3 separate regions of the Homo sapiens genome follow, and all the other regions are linked to region 3. Evidence: promoter capture Hi-C in 16 types of primary human blood cells and fetal thymus (Javierre and others, 2016). All regions are on one chromosome and are shown on one strand. Each heading gives the region's core, a stretch centred on a gene start or on the middle of the fragment in contact. The rest is flanking DNA. Distances are from core to core; before and after follow the strand shown. Region 1 holds the start of GCN1 (GCN1 activator of EIF2AK4). Region 2 overlaps P2RX4 (purinergic receptor P2X 4). Region 3 holds the start of UNC119B (unc-119 lipid binding chaperone B).

Region 1 (3,073 bases), core at 261-2,760, 520 kb before region 3:
TATAAAATACAGAAATATTCTCCTGCACCACCCAATACGGTAGCCACTGGCTACATGTGGCTAACTGTGCACTGAAATGTGGCTGGTACAAGTGAAGAACTAAATTTTTTTTTTTTTTGAGACAGAGTCCCACTCTTGTTGCTCAGGCTGGAGCGCAGTGGTGCGATCTCAGCTCACTGCAACCTCTGCCTCCCAGGTTCAAGCGATTCTCATGCCTCAGCCTCCTGAGTAGCTGGAATTACAGACATGCCACCATACCCGGTTAATTTTTTGCATTTTTAGTAGAGACGGGGTTTTGCCACGTTGGTCAGACTAGTCTCAAACTCCTGACCTCAACTGATCCACCCGCCTTGGCCTCCCAAAGTGCTGGGATTACAGGGTGAGCCACCACGCCCAGCCAAACAATGAATTTTTTTATTTAATTTAATTTTAACAAACTTAAGCCATGTGGCTGCCATACTGGACATTGCAGCTCTAGAGATTTTTCCCTCAAGTGAGTATCAATGTTAAACATTCAGCATGTATTCCCCTAACCCTCTCATACTAAGCTTTTCTTTCTAGTATTCAGTACAACATAACTTGAACATCAGCCACCTGCATAGGAGTCTCAGTAAATGTCTTTTTGAATGCTTAAGTGGTCATTTTCTGGGCCTACACATAAAAATCAATCCCATCACCCTGGAGACACCAAATCAGCCCAGCTGTCCTTAGACACCTGTTCTTCCCCTGCCTCATGACAATGTCTTTTCACCTTAAAACATAACAACTGGGTGGAGGAAAAGGTTTTCCCAGGTCCTTCCTGAACTACAAGGTACCCATAGGTAACACTCTTCCTGGACAGGACAGTTCTTTTCACTAACCCTGGATCTGATAACAACCAACATATATCAAGCCGTATTTTATCTCACTGAACCTTCACAACAACCTTTTAAGATAAGTATTGTTTTAACTTCATTTTATAGATGAAAAGGCAGACTTGGCGGGGTTAAGTCACTTGTTTGGCATGTCACAGAAATCGACGAGCAGGAACTCAAGCCCAGATCTGTATGAATCCAAAGACTACACTCAAAGTCCCTGCTCATAGTAGGTGCTCAAAGAATATTTGCTGAATACAAAGTTTAAGGAAGACTTGGCGTTGGCCCGGGGCTCACAGCCGGAGGGCTTTGGAGAAAAGAAGTAGAGGCTCGGTAAAGTGAACTTCTGCAACTCTGGGGTCGGGCAAAGGCCCCGCCGAGCTCCAGCTGCTGAAGTCGAGGCGGGAGCCCCGGACTCCTCGAGCCCGCGGTCTGCCTGCGCCGCCCGGGCCGGGCCAAGCCCGCAGCCCTGAGAGTCCAGCCTGAGACGGCCCCGAGACTACGACCTCCACAGCCACCACCTCCAACGCCCCTAAGCCGAGGAGCGAGAGGGGCCCCGCCCGACGGCCACCGTCCGCACCCAGTCCCTGGCCGCGTTGGCCCCGCAGCCGCCCGCCTCACCTGCGTGTCCGCCGCCATCCTGCCGGGGCTGACTCCGGAACCGCTTCCGGAACGCTTCCGGGTCACAGCGTGGCCCACGCGGCAGGGCGAGGCCGGGAGCCAGCGGGGGCAGGGCCCCGGGCTTGGTGCCCCCGGGCAGGACGGCGGCCGCTGCAGCCCGGGCAGCCGGATCACGGGCTTAAAGTTGGCCCGCGCCCGAGCCACAAGGCCTCCTCCCCAGGGCCCGCTCTTCAGCCCCGGGCGCCTCGTGGGAGACTAGCGCTTGTAACGTGGTGAGCCCGCGGTGTAACGCTATGGGCCCGCCTTGCAGCCCCTGACCCACTTCCAGCCCGCAGGGCCAGCCCTACGTGGGCCTTTCCTGAGTGATGACTAAGTTCTTTAGAAAAACAAGTGTTGCTTCCTAGATAGCAGGAACTAAAAACTAGGTAAAAGAGTCGGTGAACTAGTCTTTTGTCCTCAGTTTGTAGTTCAGTTGGCGGATGACTTGTACAGGGTTAGCAAACGTGGCTGGATACGGAGGTCAGGGAAGGTTCAGAACTGAACGAGGCCCCTGCCCTGGGGAAATGCTGGACGCCCCAGGCTGGGAGTTTTGAAGGCCACAGGGCAAGAGGCTACGTGCAGACGTGGCTGCAATTTAGGGAACAGGGTCTCCACAGCTTAGTTGTCAGCCCTGTTAGCAGTGGCTTTCAAACCTTTGACACAGACCTAGTTAGAATGAATATATCATGTTCCAGCAGACAGATCTCTAAGTGAAATACAGGAATCACAACAAAAACACCTATTCTCAGCAGATGCTGCTTTCTCTTTAAATACTGGGGCCAGGCATGGTGGCTCACGCCTGTAATCCCAGCACTTTGGGAGGCTGAGGTGGGTAGATCAACCTGATGTTAGGATTTCCAGACCAGCCTGGTCAACATGACAAAACCTTGTCTCTACTAAAAATACCAAAAAAAAAAAAAAAAAAAAAAAAGGCCGGGTGCGGTGGCTCACCCTTGTATAATTCCAGCGCTTCGGGAGGACAGGGCGGGCAGATCACAAGGTCAGGAGTTCCAGACCAGCCTGGCCAACATAGTGAAACCCCGTCTCTACTAAAAGTACAAAAATTAGCCGAGTGGTGGCACATGCCTGTAGTCCCAGCTACTGGGGAGGCTGAGGTGGGAGAACCGCTTGAACCCGAGAGGCAGAGGTTGCAGTGAGCTGAGACCATACCATTGCACTCCAGTCTGGGTGACAGGACGAGACTGTCTCAACAACAAAAAAATTAGCCCGGTGTGGTGGCAGCCTCCGGTAATTGCAGCTACTTGGGAGGCTGAGGCAGGAGAATCACTTGAACCCAGGAGGCGGAGGTTGCAGTGAGCCAAGTCCAAGCCACTGCACCCCAGTCTCAAATATATTTGAGACTATCTCGAAAATATAAATTGGTTACCACCGAGTTGGAGCACCACCCAGTTTGAAAAACTTTACTCTAGGGGACTGGCCCCAGCATCCACCAGGTGCCTATCTCAGCTGACACTAAACCTACTCCAAGTATGCAGCAGCCATAGAAACAGTAATTCTAGTGTAATAGTTACAACTGTGTCTAGAAAACTGTATAGGAT
Region 2 (3,061 bases), core at 417-2,916, 520 kb after region 3:
TCAGGCGACCGTGCTGTGTGACATCATAGTCCTCTACTGCATGAAGAAAAGACTCTACTATCGGGAGAAGAAATATAAATATGTGGAAGATTACGAGCAGGTAGGCCCCTCCTGGCCCCCAGCAGGCACAGGCCTCTCATCTCTTGGGTGTGGGAGCCCTGGGCGTGGGCCTGTCTGGGGAGGCCCTTCTGCAGAGGCTGGCACCAGTGTGGCGTGGTGTCCCCGTTAACCCGGGCAGTCCTGCCACTCTCAGCAGCTGCTCCATCCCTAGGCCCCTGTACTAGATTGACTCTTTAAACCCAGCCTCGTTTCAATGAGCGACATCTCAGGTTGGTGATGATAATGCATGCTCTGAGAATGCCTGTGGGCACACACTACTTCAGTGCACCTTGCGGAACAGGAAGGGTTGGGTTCCAGGCCTGGGACCAACTTGAGAACCCCTGGCGGTGAAGTCCCAGGAGCGCACCTCCCTCCCGCCTGCCACAAGGGGTCCCAGGGGCACCTTGATCTGCTTGTGTCCTTCTTTGCAGGGTCTTGCTAGTGAGCTGGACCAGTGAGGCCTACCCCACACCTGGGCTCTCCACAGCCCCATCAAAGAACAGAGAGGAGGAGGAGGGAGAAATGGCCACCACATCACCCCAGAGAAATTTCTGGAATCTGATTGAGTCTCCACTCCACAAGCACTCAGGGTTCCCCAGCAGCTCCTGTGTGTTGTGTGCAGGATCTGTTTGCCCACTCGGCCCAGGAGGTCAGCAGTCTGTTCTTGGCTGGGTCAACTCTGCTTTTCCCGCAACCTGGGGTTGTCGGGGGAGCGCTGGCCCGACGCAGTGGCACTGCTGTGGCTTTCAGGGCTGGAGCTGGCTTTGCTCAGAAGCCTCCTGTCTCCAGCTCTCTCCAGGACAGGCCCAGTCCTCTGAGGCACGGCGGCTCTGTTCAAGCACTTTATGCGGCAGGGGAGGCCGCCTGGCTGCAGTCACTAGACTTGTAGCAGGCCTGGGCTGCAGGCTTCCCCCCGACCATTCCCTGCAGCCATGCGGCAGAGCTGGCATTTCTCCTCAGAGAAGCGCTGTGCTAAGGTGATCGAGGACCAGACATTAAAGCGTGATTTTCTTAATCCCTGTCTGTTGTCTCATAGCATGTGCTAGAACTTTCCTTCCTACCCTTTTACGACAACCAGTAAATCCACTATTCCGGCTCACTGTGCTCAGAAAAGGTCCATGGGATGGTCTGTTTCTGGCACTTATGCACATTTTCCCCTACTTCTTTATTTATTTATTTTATTTTTGAGGCAGAGTCTCACTCTGTCGCCCAGGCTGGAGCGCAGTGGTGCAATCTCGGCTCATTGCAACCTCTGCCTCCCGGGTTCAAGCGATTCTCCTGCCTCAGCCTCCCGAGTAGCTGGGATTACAGGTGCATGCCACCATGCCCGGCTAATTTTTGTATTTTTAGTAGAGACAGGGTTTCACCACATTGGCCAGCCAGGCTGGTCTCGAACTCCTGACCTCAAATGATCCATCTGCCTTAGCCTCTCAAAGTGATTGGATTACAGGTGTGCGCCACCACACCTGGCCTATTTATTTTTTTTATTACCCAGGCTGGAGTGCAGTGGCGCAATCACTGCTCACTGCAGTCTCCACCTCCTGGGCTTAAGCGATCCTCCTACCTCAGCCTCCCATAGTGCTGGGATTACAAGCATGAGCCACTGCACCCAGCTGCCTACTTTTTAAAGCCTAATAATTTGTCATTAGCTTGTCTTCCTGCACAGTTCACAGGACACTTTTTCTCTAGTGACATCTTACCTGTGCCTCCATTTTGACATAAAATTACAATTCTATGCTGTGGGTAACACAATTTTTGGTAACATGGAAGTGGCTTCCTCTCCCTTCCCTGTTTGCTTCCCAAAAGTCTCCAACCAAAAGCAGCAGCACGCATACCTAGCTCCGCACAGGTTCGAAATGTTCATGAAGCTATTTCCAGCTGCAGCTTCACACCAACTAAATGTTTGTGTTTTTTTGTTTTTGAGACAGAGTCTTGCCCTATTGCCCAGGCTGGAGTGCAGTGGCATGATCTCGGCTCACTGCAACCTCTGCCTCCTGGGTTCAAGCAATTCTCCTGCCTCAGCCTCCCAAGTAGCTGGGATTACAGGCATCTGCCACCACACCCAGCTAATTTTTGTATTTTTAGTAGAGACAGAGGTTCACCATGTTGGCCAGGCTGGTCTGGAACTCCTGACCTCATGATCCACCGCCTCAGCCTCCCAAAGTGCTGGGATTACAGGCGTGAGCCACTGCACCCAGCCACACACCAGCTGAATTCTGCATCAGGTATTCAGAATCCCCCTAGAGGAAGCAGTTTGCCCTTCGCCTCTGCCATGAATTCACTTCCAAGTACTGAGAGGAACCATTATTTTACAAATACTCTGCTTCTGCTGGATAAATGGCCAACCTGGGCTTTTCTTGCTTTTGGAAAAAAAAAAAAAAGTTTACCAACTCCCTTTATTGAAGCTCTGGTTCATGCTGCCTTTTAAAAAAAAATGCTTGTTGCCTGTAATCCCAGGACTTTGGGAGGCCAAGGTGGATCACTTAAGCGTAGGCATTCAAGACCAGCCCAGTCAACATGGTGAGACCCTATCTCTACAAAAAATTAAATTAGCCGGGTGTGGCGGTATATATCTGTAGTCCCAGCTACTTGGGTGGCTGAGGCCGGAGGATCACTTGAGCCCAGGAGGTTGAGGCTGCAGTGAGCTATGATGGTGCCACTGTACTCCAGCCTGGGCACCAAAGTGAGACCCTGTCTGAAAAAATAAAAAGTGCTTGCTTAGGCACATGGGTCAAATGAAGCTGGAATGTTTAGGAATGGTGATATGGGCTGAATGTGTCTACCAAAATTCACATTTTGGAAACTTCATCCCCAAGGCAACCTTATTGGGAGGTGAAGCCTTGGGGAGGTGACTGAGTCAGGATTGCGCTGCCCTCATGAATGGGGTTGGTGCCCTATACGAGGGCTAGAGAGGGAGCTCATCCCCCGTCTGCCTTGCCACTGTCTGCCACGCGAGGACAAG
Region 3 (2,786 bases), core at 87-2,586:
TAGTGCAGTCAGTGAATCTAGTTTGTCTTCCAGTTCATACTAACCTACCTTGTGAAAAGGAAGGGTCACATAATGAATTGTGTACTTTACAGTCTTCTCTAACAAAAGTGGGAGCTCTTCCATAGTGGGATACTGTTCAGGCTCTCATTCAATCATTACTGAGCACCTACCACGTGTCAGGCATTAGCTGAACTGCTGGGAATTCAGGGGTGAGGCAGACCCAATCCCTGCCCTCACTCTTACATCTCCTGTAGCCTAGCCCAATGTCTAGCCCAGGGCCTGGCACAGTAGGGCTTACGGATGGCAATCTCATTGGAAAGTTTGTCTTGAAACTGCCTTTGCAAAACAAACACTGCTTTAACTTACCTTCTATGCTAAATATATTAATAAACATTTTCTCAAGATGCATTGTCCACTAATAGCTTAGTGTTGAAGAACAGGCCTTGGGTCAGATGGACCTGGATTAAAATCCCTGTTCCCTCCTCTTACTGCTTGAGGGACTTTGGACATGTTACCTGACTTCTCTGAACTTGAGCTTCCTGATCTGTAAAATGGAGACAGTAATACCTCACAGGGTTGTTGTGAGGTGAGGAGCCTGCCCTATAGCAAGTGTCCTGCCATATAGCAAGTGCGCAGTAAACACTGGCCATTCTTCTTCTTGGTGTGATTACTGGGAATTAGTTGCCATTGTGCTGTTGGGACTGGTGACAGAACTCTTGGATTGAGAATGCCGAGATGGTGCACGGAAGATTCTGTGTGCTCTTTCAGACCAGGAGGAGGATGAGGAGGAGGAAAGTTTATATGACGTAAATTCATTTGACCGTAAGATATGTATTTAAACATCGTGGAGGATCTTGGGGGTCTGATGGGGAGTGGGGTTGCTGAAGCTCCAGCCACCCCTAGGCCCTCCACCTGGCAGGACCAAAGTTGGGGCAGTAGCCGAAGCACCGCCCCCCGGGCCCCGCAGGAGTGTGCAGTCACCCAGTTAGGCCTATCTTGGCCTGCCCATCACTCCTGGCCTGCGGTCTCCTAACCCTGTGGCAGCAGCAGCATTCCCTGAATGGATCGAAGGCTGCCATGGTGTCGTCCGCTGAATTGCTATAGGAGTCAGCCCAGGGCTGCTCATGTGCACCTCAGGTTGCTGATGGCAGCTCTAGTTATTTGGGGATGGAAGTTTGGGGAGAGTGGGCCTTGGTCCACCCTGTGCGAAAGGGAATTCCACAGCCCCCCGGGCGCCCGCCCCCGCCCCCGCCCCGCCCCCTCCCCGCCCCTTCCCCGCCGGGCCCCGGGCCCCGCCCCCGCTCTCCATAGTTACCGCGCTGTGGAGGCGGCGGCCATCTTGGCGGCGGAGCGATGAGCGGGTCTAACCCGAAGGCTGCGGCCGCGGCGTCGGCGGCTGGGCCCGGGGGGCTGGTGGCTGGCAAGGAGGAGAAGAAGAAGGCGGGCGGCGGCGTCCTGAACCGCCTGAAGGCGCGGCGGCAGGCGCCCCACCACGCGGCCGACGACGGCGTCGGGGCAGCGGTCACGGAGCAGGAGCTGCTGGCGCTGGACACCATCCGGCCCGAGCACGTCCTGCGCCTCAGCCGGGTCACCGAGAGTGAGTGCCGCGCGGGCCGCGCCCTCCCCTCGCGCCGTGCCCCGGCTCCCGGAGCCTTCAGCGGACCCGGCCACTTGACCAGCGCGGGGGTCCCCGCCAGACCCCCTCGGCCGGCCGGGCCGCGCTTCCCGCTGCCCCGCCGGCCGGGCTTTGCTCCCGCCACGCTCACGTAGCTCTGGTGGGGAAGGACTCTCCTGGGCTGGACCGCATTCCTGTGAGTCCGGCCACGCTAGGATGCCCTTCGGCCGGTCGGCTCCCCAGCTCTGCCGGACCTGTTTGGGTAGAGGGCCCCGTTCAGCTGAACTGGATCCTCCTGAGCCGGCCGGGGGCCGAGGTCCCCTAATAAATGGGCCCCTGGGCCCTCAGCCTGGAACCCCCGGCCATCAGTGAAGTTCCCGCTCAGCCAGGCTCCCCCAGCCCTCTGGCAGGCCAGAAGCCTTACCTGCTTCCTCCGCCCTGGCCCCATGGCAGCCCTCCCCCATTGCAGCCTGCCCGGCCTCCCTCCCTCTTTGGGTCGGGAGCGTTGCCCCTTAGTGTGCAGATGGGTTCTTCCTCAAAACACATAGCCGTGGCATTTCCTGCTCATTTAAAACTGTGCCACATTAAAACAAAAATAAAGTTTCAGTTTGTGTACAGACTCCGACATGTGAATCCTGCTTTTGACATTCTCGTGAATTAAGAATGATTTCAGAGTTTCAGAAATGCGTTTCCTGCACAAAAGGCAACCATCCTAAGCTTTTTCGTTGATAGGAGGATGGGTGGGAAGAAAAATGTTGCCCAGTCCCTGCCCTGGGTGATCTCCCTTTTTCTGTTCTCTGCCAAGCCAGTCCCTGACTTGACGTCTTTTCTCTTGCTGCTGTTTTCCCTGCAGGAGTGTGCACTCACCTAGTTAGGCCTATCTTGGCCTGCCCATCACTCCTGGCGTGCAGTCTCCTAACCCTGTGGCAGCAGCAACATTCCCTGGATGGATCGAAGGCTGCCATGGTGTCTGCTGAGCTGCTATAGCAGGCAGCCCAGGGCTGTTCAGGTGCACCTCAGGTTGCCGATTGCAGCTCTAGTAATTTGGGGATGGAAATTTGGGGGGAGTAGGCCTTGGTCCACCCTGTGCGAAAGGGAATTCCCATTTCCTAAAAGAGTTTTAATTTGATTCTAGATATTTGGATGCCCCCGTTTCCCAATACTGTTTGGG

What was found. Contacts are between HindIII fragments. The CHiCAGO score rates a contact against its expected background, and 5 or more counts as called.
Region 1: a contact is called between the fragment with the promoter of GCN1 here and the fragment with the promoter of UNC119B in region 3, in 1 of 17 cell types (non-activated CD4 T cells). The highest score is 5.1, in non-activated CD4 T cells.
Region 2: a contact is called between a fragment that was not itself captured here and the fragment with the promoter of UNC119B in region 3, in 1 of 17 cell types (M1 macrophages). The highest score is 5.4, in M1 macrophages.

Annotation. Positions count from the first base shown.
Region 1 is chr12:120,193,205-120,196,277 of GRCh38, forward strand. It overlaps GCN1 (GCN1 activator of EIF2AK4), which reads right to left and starts at 1,511. Exons shown (of 58, transcript NM_006836.2): 1 at 1,476-1,511. The coding sequence starts at 1,493. RefSeq lists a silencer at 1,219-1,808. The HindIII fragment of the contact is 5,843 bases long and covers 547-3,073 here.
Region 2 is chr12:121,232,993-121,236,053 of GRCh38, forward strand. P2RX4 (purinergic receptor P2X 4) reads left to right here. Exons shown (of 12, transcript NM_002560.3): 11 at 5-100; 12 at 531-1,114. The coding sequence ends at 557. Among named protein-coding and RNA genes, the nearest start is that of P2RX4, 24 kb to the left of the region's middle. RefSeq lists an enhancer at 750-1,377. The HindIII fragment of the contact is 6,150 bases long and covers 1-3,061 here.
Region 3 is chr12:120,709,122-120,711,907 of GRCh38, forward strand. It overlaps UNC119B (unc-119 lipid binding chaperone B), which reads left to right and starts at 1,337. Exons shown (of 5, transcript NM_001080533.3): 1 at 1,337-1,597. The coding sequence starts at 1,354. LOC124903036 (a long non-coding RNA gene) reads right to left here and starts at 1,385. Exons shown (of 2, transcript XR_007063491.1): 1 at 1,316-1,385; 2 at 812-1,153. RefSeq lists silencers at 1,227-1,286, 1,377-1,646 and an enhancer at 1,254-2,096. The HindIII fragment of the contact is 2,396 bases long and covers 1-2,330 here.